2 separate regions of the Homo sapiens genome follow, and region 1 is linked to region 2. Evidence: promoter capture Hi-C in human tissues and cell types (Jung and others, 2019). All regions are on one chromosome and are shown on one strand. The core of a region is centred on a gene start or on the middle of the fragment in contact, and the rest is flanking DNA. Distances in the headings are between cores, read along the strand shown.

Evidence for each region. Contacts are between HindIII fragments. The study calls those that stand out against the background at their distance.
Region 1: the fragment with the promoter of KHSRP here is called in contact with a fragment that was not itself captured in region 2 in 1 of the 25 tissues and cell types used here (pancreas).

What each region holds. Positions count from the first base shown.
Region 1 is chr19:6,420,383-6,426,325 of GRCh38, forward strand. It overlaps KHSRP (KH-type splicing regulatory protein), which reads right to left and starts at 4,429. Exons shown (of 19, transcript NM_001366299.1): 1 at 4,071-4,429; 2 at 1,958-2,054; 3 at 1,268-1,306; 4 at 896-935; 5 at 40-89. The coding sequence starts at 4,319. It overlaps SLC25A41 (solute carrier family 25 member 41), which reads right to left. Exons shown (of 7, transcript NM_173637.4): 7 at 5,655-5,943. RefSeq lists an enhancer at 4,737-4,856. The HindIII fragment of the contact is 26,210 bases long and covers 1-5,943 here.
Region 2 is chr19:6,611,957-6,617,563 of GRCh38, forward strand. No RefSeq gene overlaps it. Among named protein-coding and RNA genes, the nearest start is that of CD70, 24 kb to the left of the region's middle. RefSeq lists an enhancer at 4,022-4,241. The HindIII fragment of the contact is 5,013 bases long and covers 314-5,326 here.

The sequences.
Region 1 (5,943 bases), core at 3,179-5,678, 190 kb before region 2:
GAAGAGTGGGCCTCCCCACCCAAGGTGACCCACACTCACTCAGGCCCACCATGCCGTCTGGGACCCTGTACTCTTCTGTCATTGAAGTCCTGTAAAGAGACACGCCAAAGGTCAGTCCTCAAGTGGGAAGGGAGGAGGACAGCAGCTCTGGAAGGTCTACTTGAAGCCAAGGCCACCATAGGTCTAAGCAGAGTCTGACCACACAGGCCACAAAACTGCCAAGGCCTCAGTTTCCCCATCTGTGCCCCGAGAGGCTTGCTCTGGGCATTGTGGGCCTTGGCCTGGTGCCGTCCCATTGATTCAGGGCGAGAGGGAGCACTGAGTAGCAAGCTGACAGTCACTCTATGTCTCTCAGTTCTAAAAAGCTGGCTGTATGTCCTTTTCATCTTATTTTCCTAGTATTTTATGAAACTACTGGCCCATTAAAAACAAACAAACAAAAAATGACCCCTGACAACTGCCCTGTGTCAGGTTCACCTCAGTCCATCTGGTGGGGCAAAGAGGTGGCAAAGAGCCCTGAGCTCCACAGCACTGAGTGGGATGGGCACTTGCAGATGTGTGAGGGAGGGAAGCAAGGCCCTCCTAGCCTCTTCCAGGAAGACGACATTTGTGCTGCTCAGAGTCCCCACCCCAGCGGAGGAAGCCATAGGGTGCGGAGACCACCCTATCACTACAGTGACTGCCACGACGCTCCCCTCCCACAGCCCTTCAGACAAGGGGTACGAGGAACGGACACAGCTCCTCTGCCTCATTCCCGTCTGAGCACTCTGGTCAACTGGCACTGGGGGATAAAACCTGAGAGATGTGCCCCCAGTCAGAGCCCTCCCAAGTCAGCAGAAAGGCCAGTCTGCTGGCCAACAGACAAGAAAGCAGTGTGGGCCCCACCATGGCTTACCTTGGGGGAGGATGGATGGGTCCAAGTTGAGAACTGATTGCTGTAGAGAGAAAACCCAAAGCAAAGACTGGCTTAGCTCCTCCTCGGGCACTTGGCACTGCCTGCCCCGGGTCAGTGGGAGCTGAGCCCGGCACCACGGTCCCCAGCCTGCTCCAGTGCCTCATGGATGCTGTGGATTCCTCCCCATAAAAGCACAGAGCTCATCTCCCTCAATTTCAGGGTTCCTGGGATCCCTCAAACGTATGGGCCCCAGAATGAAGCACCAGGGGCCTCTGTAAAGAGCTGCCACCTCCTCAGTGCTTCCAGCTCCTGACTCCTGAAAACCTCAACCCTCTGAAGCCACATATCTGCCACCAGACCCCCTGGACTTACAGTCTCCCTGGGAAGCCAGCTTCTTGCTCTCCGGTTGATCTGGGAAAGAGAGAGGATGGCAGATGCAGCACCCACCCACCCACGGCCGCCTCGAACCTGATGCTGGTGCCACATGTCCAAGGTAAACAGTGCCCCTCGGCCCCCACCCTTAACAGGAGCTGAGACAGGAGCCCAGGAGAGACTGGCCCCTGAGGGAGGCCAGACCCCGCCAATTCCGCCACCAACGCTCAGAGTAAAAAAGCCTTCAGAACACGCAACCACCACCAGGCACCTGAGTCCTCCCGGTTTAGGACAGGACCTGCCTCTAGCAGGGAGGGTGTCGTGGATAACAGTGGAGTTGGTCAGGGTTGATCATCCGCTACTTGGGGTCACACTACGCACCCCAGAGCTGGGCCAACTTCACATCAAGCCTCAGTAACTGCTCCAGGTTGCCTCAGCCTCCCAGAAAGGGAGGAATCATCTTGGGAACTTACAACTTCGACCCAGTCACAATCAATCTGCCCTCCTCTCTGCCACCTGATACCTCAGGATGGCAGACGGAACAAGAAGAATTAACAAGGCCGGGATTGCTGAGGTTTTAAAAGACCAAACAACAGTGACACCCACCCCCTCTGAACCACACTCAAACAAAAGCACCTCTTTAGGCCCCCAGCCCTTCCTCCTAAGCTAAAGGCAGCAGCAGGGAGTTACCTCCATCTTCCAACTGTCTCTTTTGGCCCCCAAAACCAAAATCAGGAGTGCTGTTATTCACTGTCGTGGCAGCATCGCCTCCAATTTTGGCTGCAATCTAGAATAAAGTAGTAAGCACAGAAGAATTACCACCAAAAACAACCCTCCATGGCACCCAGGTCAACTTCTCAGAACATCTCCTGGACACGAAAGCCCATCAGGTCTTGGTGTCTGGCCCTCCAACTTAGGGAAGAGTCAGTTGGTTAAGACATCCTAGGAGTTTTGAACCTAGGCCTCAAGGTTCTCACCAGTTAACTGGGAATATCAAAATTCCCCTCTTCCCTTCTCCTGGGATTTGTGTCTTAATTGTGGCCAGCCCATAATCCACACTGACTTCGTTCTAGGGGTGACAAGGAACAGAGGCTCAGGTGTCAGGGAGGGTTCCCAGGTCATCTCCAAGAGCTTTCAGACACTTCCTCCTGCCAGTGGCCCCAGCTCAGAAAACCAGAAAGTGTGTTTTTTTTTAGCCCCGTTTTCCTGGGATGCTGAAGAGTTCAATTTTCCCCTATCTCCCCCACTCTCAAAATCCTTTTATCAATTTATTGAATAAATTTGAGCAAAGCGATCACTTCAAGGGATATGAAATCCTCATTTGACCAAAACAGAAGACTCTCTGGATGGCTGGGCACTGTGACTTATGCCTGTAATCCCAGCATTTTGGGAGGCCGAGGCGGGCAGATCACTTGAACTCAGGAGTTCGAGACAGACTGGCTGACATGGTCAAACTCCATCTCTACTAAAAATACAAAAATTAGCTGGGTGTGGTGGTGCACACTTATAATCCCAGCTACTCGGGAGGCTGAGGCAGGAGGAGCACTTCAACTGGAGAGGTGGAGGCTGTGGTGTGCTGAGATCGTGCCACTGCACCCCTGCCTGGGTGATATTGAGACTGTTTCCAAAAAACAAACAAACAAACAAAAAACCAAGACTCTATGGGACACAAGTTACATCTCAGACACGTGAAGAGCAACTTTAAAGAAACCTCAACCCAGCAAACTTAGGATCAGAGTCTGGGGTTTAGAAACCCAAACCATGTTAAGAATCTCCCTTTCCACCAGTCTCCATTTTTCTACGCTGCCCTAGAGCCAAAACTCATGGGATGCCCACAGGGGGCCTGTCCCCACCAACTGACAGCACCAGCTTCCTCCCTTCAAGCTGTCCCAGAATCAGACGGTTCCATGGGCAATAAGACCAAATGCACGCTAGAACCCACCCAACTCCAAGGGTGAGAGAGACGACAGAGGGCCAGAACACAGGCGTTCACTTAACGGGACCTCCCACCTTGGGAGGAGCCAGTCTCTAGCCCCGGAGGCATTGGGACAGCCCAGGAGCCGGTCGGCGGCAAAGTCCTCCCATTCTACCGACCCCCACCCCTCCAGGCCATGGGGAGGCTGCAAATGGAGCTGGAGAGGTCAGTCCTAGCAGCATGTGACACTTCCTTGTCATTACGCCTCAATACACGGGGGTGGGAGACCCTCCCTTCTTTCCCCCAAAGAGACAGACCACGCTTTCAAGCCACCAAAGCATCCAAGAGCCAGTCCCCATGCTCGTCTTCCCCATTTCGCCCAAGTGCTCAGCCCTAGACAGGTCCCCATCCACTTTCCCGACTGAAGAGGAAGGACTGTCCCTCCCACCCCCACAATGTCCCTTTCTCCTAGAGAGGGGACAGAAATGGGACTGGGTTGGGGGCAAACACTGCCCTTTGCCCTGATATGGAGGGGAGAGTAAAGGCCCTCCGCCCGGGAAGGTGGACCCCTGCCTCCAGGCATGTCCTAAGGCCGGGGGGCTAAGGGGGGGGTCCCAAAAGTGCGTCTCCGAGCTCCGGGGCGCCTGCACACCCAGGCGCCGCTCCTGGTGACCCCCAGTGCGCCCCTACTCCCTGCAGGGGGGTCACCCGTTGGGATCCCACTCGAGGCGCAGCGGGAGGGCCAGGCCCCCGCCTACCGCCCACGTGACCCCGCGACGGCCCCGGCCCCCCTCCGCGACCCTGCGCGCGCGCGCGCACGTGACCCCCGCCCCCTCCCCCGCCTGCGCGCGCGCGCGAGCGCGCCCCTCAGGCCCTCGGCCTCCTCACCTGGCGGGCCCGCTGCACGGCGTCGGCGAAAGCGTCCTTGCGGATTCCCGGGCCGCCTCCGCCGGGTGGCTGAGAGGGGCCCCCGGCCGACCCCCCGCCCGGGCCGCCGCCGCCGGGACCGCCGCCGCCCCGGTCCCCCGCGCCTGGCGGGCCCGGCGGAGGGCCTCCCCCGGCGCCTCCGGCTCCCCCGCCCCCGCCGGCGGGCGGCGGCGGCCCGGGCGGGGGTCCTCCCGTGCTGTAGTCCGACATGGCGCGGCGGGGCCGGGCCTGGCGCGGAGGCTGAAGCTGAGGAGGCGGCGGCGGCGGCGGCGGCTCAACGCGGGAACAAGGCCTCGCTCCACACGGCCGCGGAGCACTCTGGGAACCCAGCCGCTGGGAGGACGACGAGGGGGGAGAGAGTCGCCCCTCCCGCCGCCGACGTGACGGACGACTCCGGCGGGCCAATGGGAGGCAGCCGCCGCACCCCGGACACCAATCGCGAGCTCTGTAGGAGGTGGCCAATCGGAGTGCAATGAGGGGCAGTGGGCGGGAGGCTCAGAGTGACTGACAGCTCTCAGAGGCAATAGCTGCGAGCTGCCCGTGCTGGGCGGGCAAATGAAGGAGATCTGAGAAGGCAGGAGGCCCAATGAAACGCGAGTGCCAGATTCGCGGGGCGGCTTCAGAATTAGATTGACGGTTCTGAAGAGTCACGTGGACTGTAAGGCCGGGCCTAGTGGAAGACTCCTATGGACCGGCTGGGTGGGCGTTAGGTTTGATAGTCGTGGACACAAGCCAATGAATGCACGTGAGAGGTGGTGCTTGTAAAGATGGGCAGCCAATTAATCCAATTCCTGACGAGTTCTGGGTGATGAGGTTGGCTTTGGACTTTAATTGCTTCCCTTGTTAACCAGAATCCTTTTCTATCCCTGACTTCTAAGCCAATGGCTGAGCGACATGGGTGGGTGTTCGGTGACTGACACTGGTCTGGACAAATGGGAATGAAGGAAATCAAAGCGCCCACTTTTGGTGGGAGCCAGTGGAAGCGCCGCTGCATTGGGGCGGAGTCGGCCACCAGACAGCGAGGGGATTAGCGGGAACTGTAGTGAATGGCAGCCGACGTGGGCGGTGGCAATCGGCTGCCCGAACTCAGGCCTGATGTCTGGGTTAGCTCACCGGCAGCCTGGTTGGGTAGGCCCGGCACGTGGCCCGCTTGAAGCCTTAGAGATCGAGCGCTTCCGGAGGTGGGGAGGCCGGAAAGCAGGAAACTCGGGATCCCCCGGGCCTTCTTCTCTCTCGACCCCCCATCTAGAGCGTCCAGTTCTCTTGCAGGACTCAAGGAACCAGCCCCACTCACGAGTCCAGAACCGTTCCAACAACCGGGATCGAGGGATCACAGCCTCGATCACACCCCTCACTTCACACCCCTCACTCCCTTCGCCTAAGGCCCTGGGATCCAAGCCTCAAGCTCCTATCCTAGGTCCTCACTTCCTCTCCTGGACACAAATTCCCATTCAGGACCCAGAGGCCCAAGGTCCCCAGCTCCCCTACTGGGTCCAGGGATCTCATGCACCCAGTTCCACTCCTAGGCCCAAGTATCCAGACACGTTCAGCAAAAACCATCTCTTTATTCCTTGTTGTGTGACATGTTCACCATTTCGCCCTGGAGCCAGGACGACCCACAAGGGGCCAGACTGGAGTCCACGTTTCTTGTCTCAGGCTGCACCCTGGGGAGGGAGTCCCAGGAGTTTTCTGACCCAGCACTGCCCCCCTCCACCCACCACCAACCCCAGCTTCAGGAATCTTCTGACCCAGAGCCCCACCCCCACCCCCAGCCTGCTTTTGCCACCAAAAACTGCCCCAGGGCCTGAACCTTGAGGCCTCGAGGGCTCTTTGG
Region 2 (5,607 bases), core at 1,570-4,069:
CTCCAGCCTGGGTGACAGAGTGAGGCTCTGTCTCAAAAAAAAAAAAAAAAAAAAAGGTACTTGACATGATAGTTTCCAATAAAAACATTTTAACCTAATTCCTTCATTTCACTCTTTAGCAATCAATATGTGAAAATTATATTGAACTGGTAAAAATGCAGGTTACAAAGATAAGATAAATATGAAATGCTATGATACACTTCTGACCACTGGAAGACATAAGAGAGAGTTGCAATGATTATATTTAATATTTTGGTTAGTAAACAGAGAGAACGCATCTACCCAGGGATTCAGTAGGGGTATGTGAAGATTTAATAAGGTAAGTAATCCTTAGTTTTTGAGAAACCAGAGATAGAAAATATGTTGGTGATTTTTTTTTTTTTTTGAGATGGAGTCTGGCTCTTTTCGCCCAAGCTGGACTGCAGTGGTGTGCTCTCAGCTCACTGTAACCTCTGCCTCCCGGGTTCATGCCATTCTCCTGCCTCAGCCTCCTGAGTAGCTGGGATTATGGGTGTGTACCACCACACCTGGCTAATTTTTTTTCTTTTTTGAGACGGAGTCTTGCTCTCTTGCCCAGGCTGGAGTGCAGTGGCGTGATCTCGGCTCACTGCAAGCTCCGTCTCCCAGGTTCATGCCATTCTCCTGCCTCAGCTTCCCGAGTAGCTGGGACTACAGGTGTCTGCCACCACGCCCGGCTAATTTTTTGTATTTTTAGTAGAGACGGGGTTTCACCGTGTTAGCCAGGATGGTCTCGATCTCCTGACCTCGTGATCCGCCCGCCTTGGCCTCCCAAAGTGCTGGGATTACAGGTGTGAGCCACCGCGCCCGGTCAATTTTTTTTTTTTAACTTTAAGTTCCGGGATACATGTGCAGAACATGCAGGTTTGTTACATAAGTATATGTGTGCCATGGCGGTTTGCTGCACCTGCTGACCCGTCCTCTAAGTTGCCTCCTCTCACTTCTCACCCCCCAACAGGCCCGATGTGTGACGTTCCCCTCCCTGTGTCCATGTGTTCTCATTGTTCAGCTCCCACTTATGAGTGAGAACATGCGGTGTTTGGTTTTCTGTTCCTGTGTTAGTTTGCTGAGGGTGATGGTTTCCAGCTTCATCCATGTCCCTGCAAAGGACACGATCTCTTTCCTTTTTATGACTGCGTAGTATTCCATGGTGTATAGGTACCACATTTTCTTTATCCAGTCTATCATCGATGGACATTTGGGTTGGTGCCATGACTTTGCTATTGTAAATAGTGCTGCAATAAACATATGGTGCGTGTGTCTTTATAGTAGAATAATTTATGTTCTCTTTTTTTTTTTTTTTTTGAGATGAAGTCTCAGTTTGTCACCCAGGCTGGAGTGCAGTGGCATAATCTTGGCCCACTGCAACCTCCAACTCCCGGGTTCAAGCAATTCTCCTGCCTCATCCTTCCGGGTAGCTGGGATTGCAGGTGCCCACCACCATGCCTGGCTAATTTTTGTATTTTTAGTAGAGATGATATTTCGCCACGTTGGACCAGGCTGGTCTCGAACTCCTGGCCTCAGGTGATCTGCTCACCTTGGCCTCTCAAAATGCTGGGATTACAGGCGTGAGCCGCCACACCCGGCCAGGATTGTTATTACTACTTTTAACCCATTTCCCATTTGCCCCGAGAATACTCTTGTCTCTAATCCCAATGTAACATCATATACATTTCTGCTACATTAGGATTAGAGACAAATTCTGTTCAGAAATAACTCCAAGAACAGTTTTTATATTTTATTTGCACATTGAAACTCAACCAGATTTGCTTCAGCCTCAACAAGTGTGTTTATGTAAAGTTAAATGAACTCTGGCAGTGAGCTGCACGTTTTTTAAAATTAGGAAATGAGTTAGCTAATATTGAACTTGAGGTTTTAGTCAATGCAATGAGACAAAAAGATTGAATAGGAAGAAATGAGTCATTATTTAGAGATTACTTCATTATGTATGTAGAAAATTCTAGGCCAGTCATTGTGGCTCACGCCTGTAACCCCAGCACTTTAGGAGGCCGAGGTGGGTGGATCATGAGGCCAGGAGATCGAGACTATCCTGGCTAACACGGTGAAACCCTGTCTCTACTAAAAATACAAAGAACTAGCCGCCTGTAGTCTCAGCTACTTGGGAGGCTGAGGCAGGAGAATGGCGTGAACCCAGGAGGTGGAGCTTACAGTGAGCCGAGATCACACCACTGCACTCCAGCCTGGGTGACAGAGTGAGACTCTGTCTCAAAAAAAAAAAAAAAAGAAAATTCTAAATAATCTACACATAGTTTTATTTTTACTTTTGAGATGGACTCACTGTGTCGCCCAGGCTGGAGTGCAGTGGTGCAATCTCGGCTCACTGCAACCTCTGCCTCCCAGGTTCAAGCAATTCTCCTCCCTCAACCTCCCAAGTAGCTGGGACAACAGGTGCTCACCACCACACCCAGCTAATTTTTTCTGTAGTTTTAGTAGAGATGTGGTTTTATCGTGTAGGCCAGGGTGGTCTCAAACTTCTGGTCTCAGGTGATCCACCCATCTCAGCCTTCCAAAGTACTTGGATTACAGGTGTGGGCCACCACGCCCAACCTACACATAGTTTTTTTTTTTTTTTTTTTTTTTTGAGACAGAGTTTTGCTCTGTTGCCCAGGCTGGAGTACAGTGGTATATCTTGGCTCACCACGACCTTCTCTTCCCGGGTTCAAGCAATTCTGTTGCCTCAGCCTCCTGAGTAGCTGGGATTACAGGCATGCACTACCACACCCGGCTAATTTTTGTATTCTTAGTAGAGATGAGGTTTCACCATGTTGCCCAGGCTGGTCTCAAACTCCTGACCTCAGGGGATCCGCCCACCTCAGCCTCCCAAAGTGCTGGGATTACAGGCATAAGCCACTGCGCCCGGCCTACACATAGTTTTAATATATTGATTTAGCAACAACACCGGAGGCAAAGCCAAAGTACAAAAATAAATCATATTTTTATATACCACTGTCAACTAGAAAAGACATGTAAAACTATGTCATTTACAAACTCAACAAAAATATATCAAATACCTGGGACTACATCTAATGGAAGCACTATATAAATTCTACACCAAAAACCATAAAATGTTACTGAGAAAATTAAAGAAAGCTTAAATAAATAGAAGGATATACCATGGCCAAGAGGTTGGAACATTTAATACCATGAAGACACCAATTCTACACCAATATCTATTGATCTATAGATTCAATGCAATCCCAGTCAATACCTCAGCAGGAAGTATACGTGTGTGTGTGTGTATGTGTGTGCGCGTGAGAGAGAGAGAGGAGAGAGAGAGAGAGAGACTGATTCTAATAAAAACACAGGGAAATGCAAAGAACTAAGAAAGACAAGATGATCTGTAAAAAGAACAGAATGGAGAGACTCTACTATATATTGAGTCTTATTAAAAGGCTACAGCAAGTTAAACAGTGTGGTATTAGTGCCATCAGGGACTACAATCCAGTGGGATTATAAAAATAATTGCTTGGCCGGGTGCAGTGGCTCATGCCTGTAATCCCAGCACTTTGGGAGGCTGAGGCGGGCGGATCACGAGGTCAGGAGATCGAGACCATCCTGGCTAACACGGTGAAACCCCGTCTCTACTAAAAATACAAAAAATTAGCCGGGCATGGTGGCGGGCGCCTGTAGTCCCAGCTACTTGGGAGGCTGAGGCAGGAGAATGGCATGAACCTGGGAGACGGAGCTTGCAGTGAGCCGAGATCATGCCACTGCACTCCAGCCTGGGCGACAGAGCAAGACTCCTTCTCAAAAAAAAAAAAAAAAAAAAAAAAAAAAATTAGCTGGGCGTGGTGGTGTGCACCTGTAATCCCAGCTACTCAGGAGGCTGAGGCAGGAGAATCACTTCAACCTGGGAGGCAGAGGTTACAGTGAGCTGAGATCGTGCCACTGTACTCCAGCCTGGGCAACAGAGCGAGACTCTGTCACAAAAAAAAAAAAATTCTGTAAGGCAAAAAGAAAAAGACAACCTACTTTTAAAAGATATAAAAGATGTGAAGCAACACTTCACATAAAATAATATACAAGTGGACAATACTAGAGAGCATATTTAGCTACATTACTCCAAAAAAAAGTAAAACCACGTGGAATCCCCCTTATTCAACAGTGGAAATTGGCAAGACTGGGCATGACTCTGAGAGTGAGTCAACAATGTGGCAGGATATGTTTCGAACCTTTATCCTTTCACAGAAACATTCATTTCAATAATCTTCTGTGCAGAAAAATACTTTCACAAGAGTCAAAGAATCAGCTGAGAGACCACAGAACTTGAATGGAAAATAACGGTAAGAAAAGATAGGCCGAGCATGGTGGCTCACGCCTGTAATTCCAGCACTTTTGGAGGCCGAGGTGGGTGGATCACCTGAGGTCAGGAGTTCCAACCAGCCTGATGAACATGGAGAAACCCCATCTCTACTAAAAATACAAAAAAAAAATTAGCCAGACGTGGTGGACGCACCTGTAATCCCAGGTACTCAGGAGGCTGGGGCAGAAGAATGTCTTGAACCGGGAGGCAGAGGTTGCGGTGAGCCGAGATCGCGCCATTGCACTCCAACCTGGGCGACAGAGCGAGACTCCATCTCAAAAAAAAAAAAAAAAAAAAAAAGGCAAAAAGAAAGAAAAACAAGAAAAAGAAAAGAAAAGATGTACTGAAGATGGTAGGAAAGAGTTTCACTTGATCTGCATCATCCCCTTCCTGAACCCAAGGCAGCACAGAGAGAGAAACCCACTTCATGGGGGATGGAGAGTAAAGTGAGTTCCTGGCTGCACTGCAGACCTGAGCCCGAGTTCCACTTTAGCGAACACGGATACAGGCTGTCCAGAGAAAAGCAAGTGGAAACTACAGAAACTGTTGTAGAACTTTTACTTGCTGGTCTGGTCTTGGTTGTATCCATCTTTGGCCAGTCACATATGTACTCAAGAAACCTTCCCAATAGAGTACAACAGGATGAGACTCTGAAATCCCTTTCAATATTCCCTGCTAGATATTGATTGTTATATCAAGCATTAAGTGTAAACTTTTAATGGACAATTAGTGTAACTGTGGATGGCATCTGCTTTTGTTTTTAATTCTGTGGATTGTGTTTAAGCAATTCAATAGTATGTTCCTGATTTTGAGATGCTAAGTGGTATTGCACAGATGTCATTTTATCCAGCATGTGCAACAGTCCCATGAAGTTTATAGAGCATACCCTTGTATAGCTTCAGGTGCTAGAATTAAAATTGATCTGTTATCACACACACACACACACACACACACACACACACGCAATCATTCATGTGGACTCAAACTCCAGTTCCATCCCAGGGGATCCAGGCACCAGGTCAGCCCCTGTGGAACCAGGTGCCAAGCCTCCTCTCTTGCTGAAATAGGCACCAGGCAATCCCTCTCAAGGACTCCAGCGAGAAGTCCACCAGCAACTCCCCACCAAACAGGCTGCCTAGAATCTCTAGATAGGCTGACTGGCAAAGTGCTTTTCCTGCTAAAGCCAGTATGTAAAGAACTGACTACTTCAAATGCACAGACACTAATGCAAGGCCATAAGGATCATGAATAATCAGAGAAACATG